Linked DNA regions of Homo sapiens: regions 2, 3 and 4 are each linked to region 1. Evidence: promoter capture Hi-C in human tissues and cell types (Jung and others, 2019). All regions are on one chromosome and are shown on one strand. Each heading gives the region's core, a stretch centred on a gene start or on the middle of the fragment in contact. The rest is flanking DNA. Distances are from core to core; before and after follow the strand shown.

Region 1 (3,687 bases), core at 876-3,375:
AGGACACAGCCTGAAGCCAGCCCAGAGACATGAGGAGGAAGACAGCTGGACTGGTACAAGCAGGGACAGCAGGAAGGTGCCCGAGGGACTGCAGCACAGAGGCCTTATATTTCTTTAAAGAGACAACGACAGATATTCCCTCCAGGGCTGGGTGAGGACAGAGGGACAGGGGCACACAGAATTCTTGGCCCAAGGCTAGTCAGATAACAGGCCATTGTCACAGAAAACCTTGGGTAAGAATCCCAGAGGGTTCACCTGGTCCAAGTAGCCCAGGAGAATGGGCAGCCTGCCCTCTCAGGTCCACGGGGGATCCGCCCATGTCTAGCTTCCCGAAGAGTGGAAGCCAAAAGCATTCCAGCACTAGAGTGGCCCAGATAGGCGAGCAAAGCCACAGGACTCTGGTGGGTAGGCTATGCACCCTGGAGGCTTTTGCCCGACAAGCTCTCTCTGCACACACACACTCCCCGAGAGGTACTCACTTGAATCCTCGAAGTATCCATTCTGCGACATGGTGGGAGAGTTTTCTGCAAGGGAAGCAGAAAGGTCACCAGCCCCATGGACCAAGCCCTGGACCTCCTGTGTGCACCTGTCTCCCCGCCCCCCGACCTGGCTCATTCCTTCGCTCTTCCGAGGGATGCAACCCACGCCACCCTAGGGAGAAAGGGAAGCAGGGGACAGTGCTCGGGAGGGGGCCCCATAGCAGGGGAAGCCAGCCTTAATCTCAGAAATTCAATTGCTTAGCCCATCTGCTAGGGGCTGCCCAGGCGGGCCAGAGGCGAGGAGGAGAGACGTTCCAGGGATGTCTTCCCACCGAGTTAGTACCAGTACCATGTTCGCTAATCCAGGTTTTCCTGAGAAAACCCTGCCCCGCTGCAGCGAGAGGAAGGGACCGGGCCCGAGCGGGCCTCTCCCCCTCTCTCCTCGGATGCCAAGGCGGGGGATCTCTCTGCACATCCCTCTTCTCACTCTCAGACCGGTCCTGGGGGCCATAAACGCCCATTGCAGGCGCAGTTCCCCCGACCCCCGTCACGCGCCCCGGGTCACACGGGGGCCGACAGGCAACGGTCTCCAGTCCTGGGACCGCGTCCCGGCCGCCTGGAAGCCAGAGCCGTTGGTCCAAAAGGGAGAACAATTGGGGGTGGGAGGAGTATCTGAGGGACACATGGGTCGGGGGAGGCTGCGCCCTCCCTGGGCCGGTCCCCGGATGGTCCCGGCTGTTTGTGCCTCGCTGTCGGAGGAAGGAAGCGACAGGAGGGGCCGCGTGCACGAGAGGAAAGCGCCTCCAGACTCGGAGACCCCGGGGGTCGGGGCGCAGGATGTGAATGCAGGCGCGGGGCGGGAGCCGGGGCTGCATCCTGAAGTGGGGGGCGGGGGCGCTGGGGCGCGTCCCAGGCCGTGGGCGACGAGGGTCTGGGAGGGTTGGGCCGGTGCACACTCCGCTTCCGTCCCGGCGGCCCACGTGCAGGTAAAGGGTCGTACAAACCTGGGTCCTGGCGGGGACCCAGGGCTGGCCCTCCCGTGTCAGAGCAAGGGAGAAACCGCTGCGGCCGCGCAGGGCACGGTCAGGGGTCCCGGGACTCCCAAAACTCCAGGGGTTCCGGGGCTCCCACCGCGGCGCCGGACGGGAAGATGCCCGGGCGGAAGGTAAAATGAGACCTTCCGAGGCGGCGGCCCGCCAGGCTCCCAAAAGCTCGGCGCTCGGGGCGCTGGGAGCCCCACAGCTCCGCCCTGCCCACTTTCGAGCTCCCCGCCCTCGACCCGCTGCATCAGCTGTTCAAACCTGGTAAGAAATTCAAGACGGCGACAGCAGAGCCCTAATGAAACCAAGCGCGCGGTGGCCGCGAAGCCGCGCCCGGGCCTCCCGCACCCGCGCCCTCCTCCCCGCGGCTGGGAATCCCGCAGCCCTCTCGCCCACCGGCCCCGGCCCGCGCAGGCAGACGGCATCCGCGTTCTCCCCGGGGTCCCCGACGGGAGACGGTGGCGGAGACCCGGGCGGCCTTCCCGCCGCGCCCCCGGGTTCAGGCACCCACCGCACGGCTGCAGATGGAACACGCGCCTGGTGGCCGCGGCCATGGCACACTCGCGCACTCACGGCCGGGCTCCTCACGCGGCGCTCCGGCGCTTCTGGACCCCAAACTCGGCGACTCGGGCGGGCCGGCGGCGGGAGCCGGCGACACACCCCCACGCCGCGCCTGGGTCCTAATGCCGCTCAGACGCCGCGCCCGGGCGCGGTAGGCAGAGCTGCCGAGGGCTGGGACCCGGCCGCCCGCCCCGCGCCCTCACCCGCGGGAGGCTGCTCCAGCCGGGCTGGGCTGCTCCCCGCCGCCCGCAGCTGCTGGGCCAAACCGAGTAGACCCGGCTCCTTCGAGCCTGTGCGCGCCGGACCCAGCAGACCCAGCGTCGCGAGTTTAGGGGCTGGACGGGGCCGGGGAGCTTCTGGGAAAACGTTCGACTGCGCCACGAGCCCACCGAGCTGTGCGACTGAGGCAGACCCCGGGAGGGCTTCCCCCGCGTCCGCTTTAAGTACGCGGCCGGCCCCTGTCTCCTCCTTTCGACCGGGGACCTCCGCAGGGCCACGCCCGCTGGCTGCCCCGCCTCCTGCATTTATCCCGGTAGCTCCGGCCGCAAGTCCTTCTCCTCCTCCTCCAGGAAGCGCGCCCCGACTGACTAGACGGACCTCCGTGCATTCCCCGGGCTACGCCCTCGCCCGCTGAGACGGCGCTCTCCGAGCTCGGCTGCTTTGGGTTTTCGCTGCGAGCCTCGCCAACTTATCTGCCAGCCTCTTCACGTCCTCGGCCTTCTATGAGGTCAAGGTCATGGTTCGCCCCCTTTTTCCTTCCCCAAATGGCCCTTGCGCCCTGTCCCCTTTCCTGGACCGGCTGCGACCCGCCCGGGGACGCGCCTTTTCGGGGCGCTTAGTCTCCTGCGAGTAGGGCGTGTGCGCGTGTGGGTGCGCGTGCTGCGATGCGATCCGGCAAATGCAGCTGACGAACCCCTGGCCTGATCCACGGTGGCTCCCAGTAGAAGGCTCTACAGCCCTTGGAAACGGAACACGCAGCTCCGTAAAGCGCTAACCAACCTCCCGACCCCTCCGGCCGCCATCGCTTTCCGGCTCAGCCGCGCTGGGACGGAGTCCTCGGCCACTGTGCCCTAACCATGGTAGAGGAACGGGGACAGGCCGGGGCAAGCCCACCTCTGCGAAGGAAGGGCTTCTGGCGCGTTGGGGAAGCCTCATGCATAGATTGGGTGAGTAAGGCTGGCCCAGTTCTCCTCCCGGCAAGATAAGAACGCATTAGGAGGGAAGCGCTGGAGTGCTCCTCTTGGCGACGGATGGCCTGGGGCTCTGCGACAGACTGAGTACCCCACCCTCCCCCAGCGCGACTCCAGGAGGCCTTGTGGAAGATCCCAACACCATGACCTGCAACTGACTTGGGGCTGGCCACATAGTATTTTAGCAGGGGTGACTCTGGAGAGACACCAGGTCATCCTGCGCACCCCTTGGGACCTTTCCTAGACGCCCTCCAGCTAGAGCTCCAGTCCAGGCACTGACTCCCGGGTGGCGGGTGGAGGCTGAGGAAGAGCTGAAGGACACAGGCGGATGTCGCCCCCGGAGCATGGCTGCATAGGTGGCATGCAGGCTGGATCCCTGAAAAGCCACCTTGCCACCCCCAGTCTCCCCCATCTGGG
Region 2 (3,687 bases), core at 423-2,922, 410 kb after region 1:
GCCGCTGTCCTCTCTGTGTTTGTGAGGCTCCCTCGAGGCCTGGGTGGCATCCCTCCTCCTGGGCAGTCAGGTGAGTAGATGCGGTCCAGCGAAAGACACCTTCTAAGCATGTGAGGGAGCTAAGCATGGGATACTTCCCTTTCCTAGAGAACAAGGTTATAAAGGTGATAACCAACAGTGCCTGCCCATGCCATGGCAAGGATTCAGTGAGATAACCCATTTTCACCTATATGCCCAAAACTGTTTTCCCGAGGTCATCGTCCCTTCCTGGGGGGACGTCCCGGGACCTCCTCACCGTTCTGGCCTCCCCAGCCTCTCAGTGCTCGTGGATGCCTCTGACCACACCTTCCTTTGCTGTCGGAGTTTCTGGTCCCCCTTTGCCTCTGCTGCTCTTTCCCTGTCTCTTTTGCCCTGTCCTGCCCCTGAATCTGGGTGTGCTCCCTTCACCCTGCATGTTCTTCCTCAGTTGCCTTCTCCACTCCACAACTTCCAGCCATCTCCCCTGGGCTGGTGTTTCTTCAATTGGTATTTCTAGCCCTCCTGCATTTCTTTTGCTTTTTCACTGTTTTAAATATAAGGCACAAACACAACGATAACATAAAGGAAACGTCTGAAAATCCACGCACAGTTCTGCTATCCCACAACCCACCAATTTTCATTGTTCTGTGTTCTTTCCAGCCCTGGCCAGCAATTTAGTTGAAATGATTGTATAGATCTAATTTTTATTCTGCTTTTTTCATATAACTATCTTAAACATTTTTATAGCCTACTACATAATATTTTACCAATGCATGTGACACTTCTCCATCAAATATATGAATCATGATTATATAAACTTCTATTTTGAAGACAGAAAATATGGAATACAGTTTTGAAAGTATCTCGCTTAATTACAGAGTGCTTTGGAGGATGCCTCAATGTGATCATTTTAGACAACTTTCAGTTGAGATGATTCTGGAGTCAGGGTTACCTTAGCCAGAGAGCACCCTGTGTCTGGTGGAAAGGCTGCCCCAGGATACTGGTCCAGGCCCTGAGCTCCACTGTCCCTTCAGTGCACCCTCAGACCCAGAAGATCCTCCAGCCCAGCTTTAGAATGGTTAGGATCTATAGTATCTTCACGAGGGAGGCCTTTCGACATGGCTCGGCCAGGATTCATTGTCTTCATCTCACCTAGGGATTCCTGTGAGTTGAGCCCCTAACTCGGCCTTGCCTGTGTTGAGGACAGGACAACTCTCTCGTCTGTCACTCAAGTGCAGTTTGTGTCTCCTGCCACCGCCCAGCCCAGCAAACAGTGGCTGGTGTGCCCTGAGGGCAGGGTGGCGGCTGGGGCGGCAAGGTGACAGGTGTGCAGCCCTGTAGCCTTTCCTGCTCCAGCCTTTGCCTGACATGCCCCAACCACCTGAAACACCTAATAAAGGTCTGCTCAATGCTTGAGACCCACCCAACAGTGGGGCCGTCCTTGCTGCCCCTTCTGTACCCCCTGTTTTAAGTGGTGCCCTTTTCTAGGCTCCCAGAGCATTCCCCACTGTGTGCCAGGCACTTACAGCTGTCTACCCCCACCCCCACTCCCCTTCACAGGCTCAACAAGGCAAGTAACACGCTCCACTAACACAACTCCTGGCAGGTCTCAGCAGAGCTCCGAGCCTGCGCTGGCCATTTCCCACGTATATTAGGAATCCAGCTCCCCCAGAACCGTGCCTTCCCTAATGGATGTCAGATTACTCCGTTATCAATACAGGAAGGAAAATGGGATTGCAAGTCCCCAAAGCAAAGTGGGCGGCGGGGCAGTGATGAGCATAAAGGGTAGTTGCTATTGATCGTGGGTTGCTGCGCGCCAGATACTAAGACTTTATGCATGCCAGGTACTAAGACTTTGTCAGTTCACTCATTGATTCTTCACACTAGCCCTGTACTACTATTATCCCCATTTTACAAATGAGGAAACTGAGGTGCAGGGAGGTTAAAGAACCTTGCTTATTCCAAAGCCTGGCCCCAGAGCCTGCCCTGCCTGTATCGTGGTATGGAATGGAAGTGACTAATGCTGACTGAGTGATAGGGGTGAATCTGAATCTCGTCATAAAGCGTGCTGCTGTTTCTCGGCTCCTTTTGGAGGAAGGCAGGAGAAATTGGGCACTTAGCACACGTCTACAATCTCATTTATATGTTCCCACCACCAAGCAGAGCACTGTGCTTGGTTGATGTGCTGAAAAGCAAACTGCACCTTTTGTGTAAAAAGTAGGGAAAGGAGAAGAATGTGTATTTGTATTTGCATAAGTATACCCTCAAAGAATACATAAAAATTAGTGAAAGCGTTTACCCAGATGGAGGGGAAGGCGGAGGGAGGGTCAGGGTGGAAGGAAGACTTTTCCCTGTGTATGTGTACCTTTTTGGGGGTTTTTTGTTCTGGTTTTTTGGTTTGTTTGTTTTGCACCATGGGATTGAAAAATAAATGTTTAAATTATTTTTTAAAACAAAATAAAAGCCAGCTGCTCCCAGCATATGTTCTCTCTGTGGTTCTCCCAAGGTCTTGCTGTGGCCAGCGCCCTGGTGGACATTTCTCAGCAGATGCCGATAGTGTACAAGGAGAAGTCAGGAGCCGTGAGAAACCGGAAGCAGCAGCCCCCTGCACAGCCTGGGACCTGCATCTGATGCTGGGGCCAGGGACTCTCCCACGCACGAGCTAGTGAGTGGCACACCAGAGCCATCTGCAGGGAAGGGCGTGGCGGGGAAATGGCTGTGCGGTGCGGGACGGAAGACTGGAAACCCTCAAAGCATCTGACTCACCTGCATGATCACAAGCTTTCTTTGACGGTTTCTCCCATCCGTGTTCCAGCATCTAACCTTTTACTTTTGCATAGGAAATACTTGATTTAATTACAGGTCCAGGGATGAGCTGATGGTTGCTGGAGGAGGCCAGTGTAGAGCCAGTGAGAGAACTAGGAATGACACTCAGGTTCACTGTGGAAAACTGTTCTTGGGACTGTCTCAACTGTGCAAAAAACAAAAGATGGAGTGTTTACAAGTAGACATTCGTCATCAGTTGTTCTTGAACATGGTCTTTTAAAAACTAGTCAGATGAATTGTTTTCATCTGAAGCCTGCTATCTTTTTTAAAAGATGTGCTATTTATTCTTGCACGATTTAGGCAATTATCTCTCTTCCAGGGAGTACCTTTTTTTCTAGTTGAGAATTAATAATGGTCCATCTCTTTTGATCATATCAAGCTAGGATAGAAGGGGGGCTATTTTAAATGTCAAGGTCAGCAGTGTTACTTTGAATGTAAACTGGTATAATAGGTAGTTTTCTATAGTAACTTGATTAATTTAGTCTTAATCCATTTGAAACTCTCTCTTCCTTTCTCTCTGCCTGTCCCTCTCCTTCTCCATCTCACCCTCCCTCTCTCACACATACACACACAAACACATACACACAACACTAAGTGCCTAGACTTTAAATAGATCTAGCAATTGGAAAGTTAGTAAGCCTAAGTTTTTACATAATTGCATTCCTACATTCTTGTAAAATTTAAATAGCTACCATTGGCAATCTGCTTTTTTTCTAAAATCTGATTTGCAGCCAGGAAAGAATTTTCTCACCCAAGGAACATTTGATCTAGCAGCAGGGATGAGAGGAAAGCAGAAATGAATGAACTGTGAAAGCTCCTGTTTTTATTATCAAAAAGGACACT
Region 3 (3,687 bases), core at 543-3,042, 340 kb after region 1:
AGGCTACTGTGACCACATTTGGTATTTCATAATATTTTGATAGCTTTTTCAGATTTCAGAATCTCCATTGGTGACTGTCTCTGTTGTTTCTCTTTCCATGTCCAAATGTGGGTCTCTTCCAGCATTCCATCCTTGGCTGGCAGCTGACCTTTCCCATAGTTATTCACTCCCTCAGAAAATGGATGGCACCCAGCTTTGCTTATTACCCTGGTGTCTCTAACAATGACTCTCGAGTCCACAGAAGTTAAAAGGGTTCAACCAGGTGGCCACAGATATACTTCTGGTACCCTTTCTCTCTTCCTTAGGTTTTCTAACTCTAAACGTTTCTGGGTATTCTAATCTGCTGTGGCCACGTTTATGAAACAGAAATTCACAGTCTTAATGATAAGACTGACAGATGAGAGACAACTGAAGTGTAATGTCCTTCCACAGCTATACCTCTAGATGTAGCCCAGTTAGTAGAGCCCAGATTTTTATGGAAAAACAAGAAAGGACACCTAGCCTAACCCTTAGGACAGAGGCTGGCTGGTAGAAAGCTGGAAGGAGGTGACCCCTGCAGGTGAGAAGGAGTGAATTAGGATGTCGAAGACGGAAGGGCTTTCTGTGATTTAATTAGTGCCCCCATCTGTGAGATGTAGAGGGAGATGATTAAGGGAGTGGCTCTTTGAGTGAGCTGCAGGTAAGTTTGCATGGTTGGCTGCAGGCTGGATGGGAGGGGATTTTTATAGTTGAGCCTCAGGAAGGAACCAAGGCCAGACCCTGCGAGGCCATGGCTACAATAGTAATGGATTTGAATTGTATCGTGAAGGCAAAGAAATTATTGAAGGGCCTTTAAAAAGTATTTTTAATTGTCTTTCTTTCTTTTGGATCTGTTTATTTTTAGGTCTTTTAGTAGGCATGTGTATTTTTTCCTCTCAAAAATGGAAATAGGCTGGGTGTGGTGGCTCCTGCCTGTAATCCCAGCATTTTGGGAGGCCAGTGAGGGAGGATTGCTTGAGCCCAGGAGTTCAAGACTAGCCTGGGCAACACAGGGAGACCTCGTCTCTACAAAGGAAGTTTTTTTAAAGAATTAGCCGGGCATGATGGTGGCACATACTTGTAGTTCCGGCTACTTGGGAGGCTGAGGCAAGAGGGTTGCTTGAGCCCAGGGGTTTGAGGCTGTAGTGAGCCATGATCATGTCCCTGCACTCCAGCATGGGCAACAGAGCGAGACCCTGTCTCAAAAGAAAGCAAAGGGAGGGAAATACAGTATATCTTTTGTTTTATAACTACCAAAATTAGGAATACTTACCATTTCTTGGCTAAACTTTATATTTTGATTTTTAAAACTTGTTAAAAATTGCAATGAGAAGGAAATTTCAGGAGAGCAGAAGACAGACTGTCCCAGGTGTCACTGTCCTATTATTCCCTATAAAATCCAGTGCCAGGATGGATGAATGGATAAAGCAAATGTGGTATAAGTTGAATATCCCTTATCTAAAATGCTTTGGACGAGGAGTGTTTCGAATTTTAGAATATTTGCATTATACTAACCAGTTAAGCATCCCTAATCTGGAAATCCAAAATGCTCTAGTGAACATTTTCCTTCAGCATCCATCATGTTGGCACTCAAAAAGTTTTAGATTTTGGAGTGTTTTGGATTTCAGATTAGGGATACTCAGCCTGTGTTTGGGGGTAGCCATCTCTTCATATAGACATTTCAGAACTTAAATATTGCTTTGCTATAATTTCTGTGAATTTTTGATATATTATCTTCTCTGAGCTACATTTTTATCCTTTATAAAATGGCCATATTGAAGTGATGATCTATCCTAATCTACCATGGCTGAGTCAAGGGATAAAGAGGTTTTCCTATGTCTGTGGGGTATACTTAACTTGGTGGTTTTTATCTAGAAGCTTGTTTTGGTCAAGATGTTGGTTATATTCAGGCCAGGCATGGTGGCTCATGCCTATAATCTCAACATTTTGGGAGGCCAAGGTGGGAGGATCACTTGAGCTCAGGAGTTTGAAACTAGCCAGGGCAACATGGCAAGACTCCATCTCCAAAATTTAAATTAAAAAAAGATACTATCTGTATTCATAGTTGTGTCTCTTTTGCCTTTAGTCCAAGCTCACCTTAACCCCATGGGTCGGCCTTCGGAAGATCAATGTGTCCTACTGGTGCTGGGAAGATATGTCCCCATTTACAAATAGTTTACTACAGTGGATGCCGTCTGAGCCCAGTGATGCTGGATTCTGTGGAATTTTATCAGAACCCAGTACTCGGGGACTGAAGGCTGCAACCTGCATCAACCCACTCAATGGTAGTGTCTGTGAAAGGCCTGGTAAGTTCACAGGTGAATTAGGTGGTATTCAGAGTTTATTGTGAGAGAAACCATAGGAGGCATAGTTCATTGCTGAGATGTGTGAAGTAGTCATGAAAACAGATGAAGTATTGATTTCAAGCATGCAAAGAAGAGTATAACCCAGATTTCAGAAGCAGAAGGAAATATTCTGGGACCCTGAATAGTTTTAATTATAAGCAAAACTAAAAATAACTAACACTACTCGAAGAAACTGATATTCTAATTAACAATGAGATTGATAGGTTTATTGACCAGAAAAAGTATTGAGAATTGCTCTGAAAAGCAAATTTATTGGTGTTGGCAGAGAAATGCTGTGGAAGAAGAAACAAAAAAGGAAAATAAAAACAAAGAAAAGATTAGTAAAGCAAGCAAGTGACTGCAGGGACAGTGTTCAGAAAGGTAGTGTCAACAGGGAGAAAAATGATGAGAGCAGTTCTGTAAGCGAGGACAGAAGCAACCCAGAACTACGCGAGAGCTGCAGGAGAGTACTGAGCAGACAGACACTCGGAGTAGCTTCCCAGCTTTCAGTCTCTCTGGGCTACATTTTGGCTAACTAAAGGCAGGCCCAGGGGTAGCTGCTGCAGCATGAAGACAACTCAAAATAAGCCTCCTCCTCCTGCAGAGGGACTCACAAGCAGTCGGTGGAATTGTGGATTATTTTGGGAGGCTGGACTCCATTTGCATTGTGTCCAATTTTGGGAAAGTAATTTGTCTGAGGAATTACAGAGGTATAGGAGAGAATTCATAGCATTGTAGATTTCTAAATATTGATTTCTAAACTTCTCTAGGGGAGCTGCCCAGCAGCCTTTCAGAATTCTGAATCCTTTGTTGAACTTAATGAATGCCGTAGACCTTCTTCCCTCCAAAATTGCAAACATGAGATTTTACATATTCAAGTGGATTGTAAAACCCCTAAAGTTCATCCTGGGTCCCCAAATTCTAAGGGGCTTACAGCCCTACTTTTATGGAAAGATTCACTGTTTCCTCATCTTTGTCCTTAATGCTCTTTGAAAAGAAAATTTATTTTTTCCACAAGTGTGTAAATACACTTGACTAAACAGTACTTGATGACTTTTATTGTTTTCTATTTTCTCTCATTTAATTGATTTCATGGCACATTAATGGGTCATCACCCACATTTGAAAAGTCTTGGCTGGGCACAGTGGCTCACGCCTGTAATCCCAGCACTTTAGGAGGCCAAGACGGGTGGATCACAAGGTCAAGATATCAAGACCATCCTGGCTAACATAGTGAAACCCCATCTCTACTAAAAATACAAAAAATTAGCCAGACGTGATGGCGCACCCCTGTAGTCCCAGCTACTTGGGAGGCTGAGGCAGGA
Region 4 (3,687 bases), core at 665-3,164, 330 kb before region 1:
AGATTGGGGGTGGAAATCATAAAATTCTTTTTTTTTTTTTTTTTTTTTTTTGCTCTTGTTTCCCAGGCTAGAGTGCAATGGTGTGGTCTCAGCTCACCACAACCTCTGCCTCCTGGGTTCAAATGATTCTCCTGTCTCAGCCTGCCGAATAGCTGGGATTACAGGCATGCGCCACCACACCTGGCTACTTTTTTGTATTTTTAGTAGAGACATAGTTTCTCCATGTTGGTCAGGCTGGTCTCGAACTCCTGACCTCAGGTGATCCACCCGCCTCGGCCTCCCAAAGTGCTGGTATTACAGGTGTGAGCCACCACACCTGACCTCGTAAAATTCTTAAACGATCTATACTCAGTTGTCTTACAGTTGCCTAGATTCTTGTTCCATTTAAAGAAACTGAAATTTGAAATCACAAATGTGGATTATGGATATGATGGGTTATGGATATGATATATTTGTAATGAATATGCAAGAGAGAACATTTGAAACATTAATTAGTAGAAATGTACTTAAAGAAGAGGCCTTGGTTTTTTACCGTAATATTGGCAGGTGACATGTATTTGTTTTGAGTAAAAATCAAATATTTCAGTTACATTTTTAAAATTACCTGATATACTGTACTTTTTCATGTAACCAGTCAGCCCTGAGTCCTATTTGTGTTAGATAAGTTTTTACCAATCCCAGAAGGAGATAGAGGACAAGCTTTTATATGCTTCGGCTGAAGAAAACCTTTCTCCAAAGAAGTAATTATCTGATCCTCCTATAAAGGGCCAGATAGTAAATATTTTAGATTTTGCAGGCTGAAGTAGAATCAAGGGTAATACGTACGTTCTGATATAACAAGAGAGAAAACAAATTTTGAGAAATTTCTTAATTGATTAAATTCAAAATAATAAACACAATTTATTGAAATACAGGTATACTAATGAGAAGAATGGAGTTCTTTTCGGAGTGATAACATTTTCTTAATTGGAGTTCAGAGTTAGTGCTTCCTATTCAATAAATAATCATCAAAATTGATTGCAAGTATTTATCTATTAATGCAGGTCTGTAATGAGGTTTTATATATTTCATCTTTGACATGTCTTCACACATACATGTCAAATAATTGATACCAGCCCATAAACATATGATTTTAATTGAGCATATTAATAACTCAGGAAGCATTTATAGAATTAGGTTTTTCTTATAACATTTACCTTTTAGTATATTATTCATTGCTGCTTAATTACTTCCAATGGAAGGTTAGACAGAAGCTCCACAATTGCACTGTTAAATAGATACTGAAATATAGATATTTCCTTGTGCATTAAGGTCCTAAAAATTATTCTGGAAATGTAGTGTGAGCTAAGAAACTATATCCACTGCAAATTTGTTTGGGAATGGAGATCTCACTTCTTGTTTTAACTTTTGATAGCATGTAAAGTGTATAAAGCAGCTCAACGTTGCTTATGATTCAAAAGTTAGTTGTCTAAATAACAACAGTTTAAGTTTCATATATAAGTGTTGTTCTGTCCTGTAATTTTAAGTTGAATTTACTATTATAAAATTAGCAAAAGCTAATTCTCAAAGCCATTTATTGTTTGATCATAGTGTCTGAAAGCAGTCTTATTGTTGTGAAAAATTTCAATCTCAGTTCCAAGCTGAAAAGAAAAAAAAAAAAGCATGATAAAACTTTAGTACAGCTCAGCCGTCAAACTGCTGTGTGCCTGGGCAAGTCAGGTTATTCAGCTTCTGTTTCTGACAATGGTTAAGCCCATGGCAGTGAATGAAATTCACCATTAACATGGTTGGTTTAATAATTCATGATAAATTCAGATATTTTTCATAGAATATCTATTGATAAAAAACATGAATAACCACCTTACATTTTCACGTTTTATAAATCACCCAACTAAGCCTTTTTCTGCTTCACACATATTTTTACCATTATCAATGATAACGTATCTGAGATTCCACTTTAGGTTATATGGAATTAGTACTTTTTCACCTTCTTGTTTGTAGTTGTTCAACACAGACTATTCATAGAAGCTAATTCTTCAGTTGTTTTAAACTTGGCACTGACTCCTTGAATAAACATCTGAACAGTGTTGTAACATCTATCAAACTCATTCAAAAGAGATGGAAATCTACTTAACCTCAATTGCCTTGGTTTTTTTTTTAAACAGATTATTGATCTTGCTCCTAATATTTTCGACTTTTAGAGCAAATGATTTTGTTGAAAGGCTAATAGTCTTTTTTTCTTTTTAAATTATCTTATATTAAATTTAAAAAATAATTTTTTTGTTACCTGTCTGGAGAAAGCCTAGAGAAAGGCTAATTAATACTCTTAAACAAGTTTATTTTCTCTGGATACATTTCTTCAGCTTCTTCATGATTTAATTCACTTATCACTAGAATATTACTTTTCTTGCTTTGCTAACAAATGAGCTACTTAGAAACTTCCCTCCTTTACAAACTTTCTATTCCTTACCTTCCCTCCTTGCTGTAATGAAATATTCCACTTTAAATTTTCAAATTTTTCTGACCATTGCTTTCCTGTGAATCGGAAATACTGTGATCGGTCCTTAGTTTGGTAACATTGATGTATTTTGAATTCTTTTAGCACAGACAGACAGTTGACTCCTTGAACAACGCAGTTTCAAACTGCACAGGTCCAATTATATGAGAATTTTTTTTCAATAAATACAATCAGCAGTTTATACATATACAACCAAACGTGGATCAAAAATACGTTATTTGAGGAAACCCCCAGATACAGAACAGTGAAATTTTTGTATCCTCTGGGCCACTGTGGGACTTGAGTGTGCATAGATTTTGGTATCCACGGTTGATCCACAGATACCAAGGGATGACCGTAGAGTCATTGCATAATAAACAAAATGCTTCCCTATCTTGTCTTGATAAAATAATGCATACCCTCCACTGTGCCTTAAAAGCATGACATTCAGGCTGGGTGTGGTGGCTCACACTTGTAATCCCAGCACTTTTGGAGGCCAGGGTGGGAGGATTGCTTGAGCCCAGGAGTTCAAGACCAGCCTTGGCAACATAGTGAGAGTCCATCTCTAGTTTTAAAAAAATACAAAATTAAAAAAAATGAAAAACATGACATTCAAAGTGCATTTGTTTTTGTTTCGACATGATGGTTATGCACTAATAACTAATGATAGTTATGTACTAATAAAATGTCAAAATAATAACGACTTTTAGTTACTGATAACAGTTATGCATTAATAAAAAATAAAATGTCACAGTATGACAATATGCATGTGTGGCACCAAACATGCTGTTGAGTTATAACTTTGTGACTGTGATTTGTGGGATACTGAGCAGCAGTGGAAAGCTATATAAGCCACTCCACTCTGCCAGTCAGTACAGTGGCTGATTACCAATTATGGATAACCAGAACACATCAAAAAGCAGTTCAACAAGGATCAGAATAATAACATGTAAGTACCATTTATTAAGTAGTTATGTGTAAGGCACTGTGTCAGACTGTATAATGTACATTATTTAACCTTCAAAAGATTGAGAGGGAAGATCCCTTGAGTCTGGGAGGTCGAGGTTGCAGTTAGCTGTGATTGCACCACTGCACTCTAGCCTGAGTGATGGAGCGAAATCCTGTCTCAAAAAACAAAACAAAACAAAACAGGCCTGGTGCGGTGGCTCATGCTTGTAAATCCCAGCACT

Evidence for each region. The method cuts DNA at HindIII sites, captures the fragments that hold promoters and counts their contacts. A contact is called where the count stands out against the background at its distance.
Region 2: a fragment that was not itself captured here is called in contact with the fragment with the promoter of SLC4A11 in region 1 in 1 of the 25 tissues and cell types used here (dorsolateral prefrontal cortex).
Region 3: a contact is called between a fragment that was not itself captured here and the fragment with the promoter of SLC4A11 in region 1, in 1 of the 25 tissues and cell types used here (spleen).
Region 4: a fragment that was not itself captured here is called in contact with the fragment with the promoter of SLC4A11 in region 1 in 1 of the 25 tissues and cell types used here (spleen).

Annotation. Positions count from the first base shown.
Region 1 is chr20:3,237,065-3,240,751 of GRCh38, forward strand. SLC4A11 (solute carrier family 4 member 11) reads right to left here and starts at 2,126. Exons shown (of 20, transcript NM_001174089.2): 1 at 2,031-2,126; 2 at 480-524. The coding sequence starts at 2,073. RefSeq lists silencers at 1,936-2,115, 2,216-2,375. The HindIII fragment of the contact is 33,876 bases long and covers 1-3,687 here.
Region 2 is chr20:3,644,199-3,647,885 of GRCh38, forward strand. It overlaps ATRN (attractin), which reads left to right. Exons shown (of 29, transcript NM_139321.3): 28 at 1-70; 29 at 2,525-3,687. The coding sequence ends at 2,649. Among named protein-coding and RNA genes, the nearest start is that of GFRA4, 17 kb to the right of the region's middle. The HindIII fragment of the contact is 3,961 bases long and covers 1-3,653 here.
Region 3 is chr20:3,580,031-3,583,717 of GRCh38, forward strand. It overlaps ATRN (attractin), which reads left to right. Exons shown (of 29, transcript NM_139321.3): 16 at 2,105-2,324. Among named protein-coding and RNA genes, the nearest start is that of GFRA4, 82 kb to the right of the region's middle. The HindIII fragment of the contact is 8,776 bases long and covers 1-3,687 here.
Region 4 is chr20:2,905,664-2,909,350 of GRCh38, forward strand. All of the region lies in intron 1 of PTPRA (protein tyrosine phosphatase receptor type A), which reads left to right. Among named protein-coding and RNA genes, the nearest start is that of PTPRA, 34 kb to the left of the region's middle. The HindIII fragment of the contact is 8,451 bases long and covers 1-3,687 here.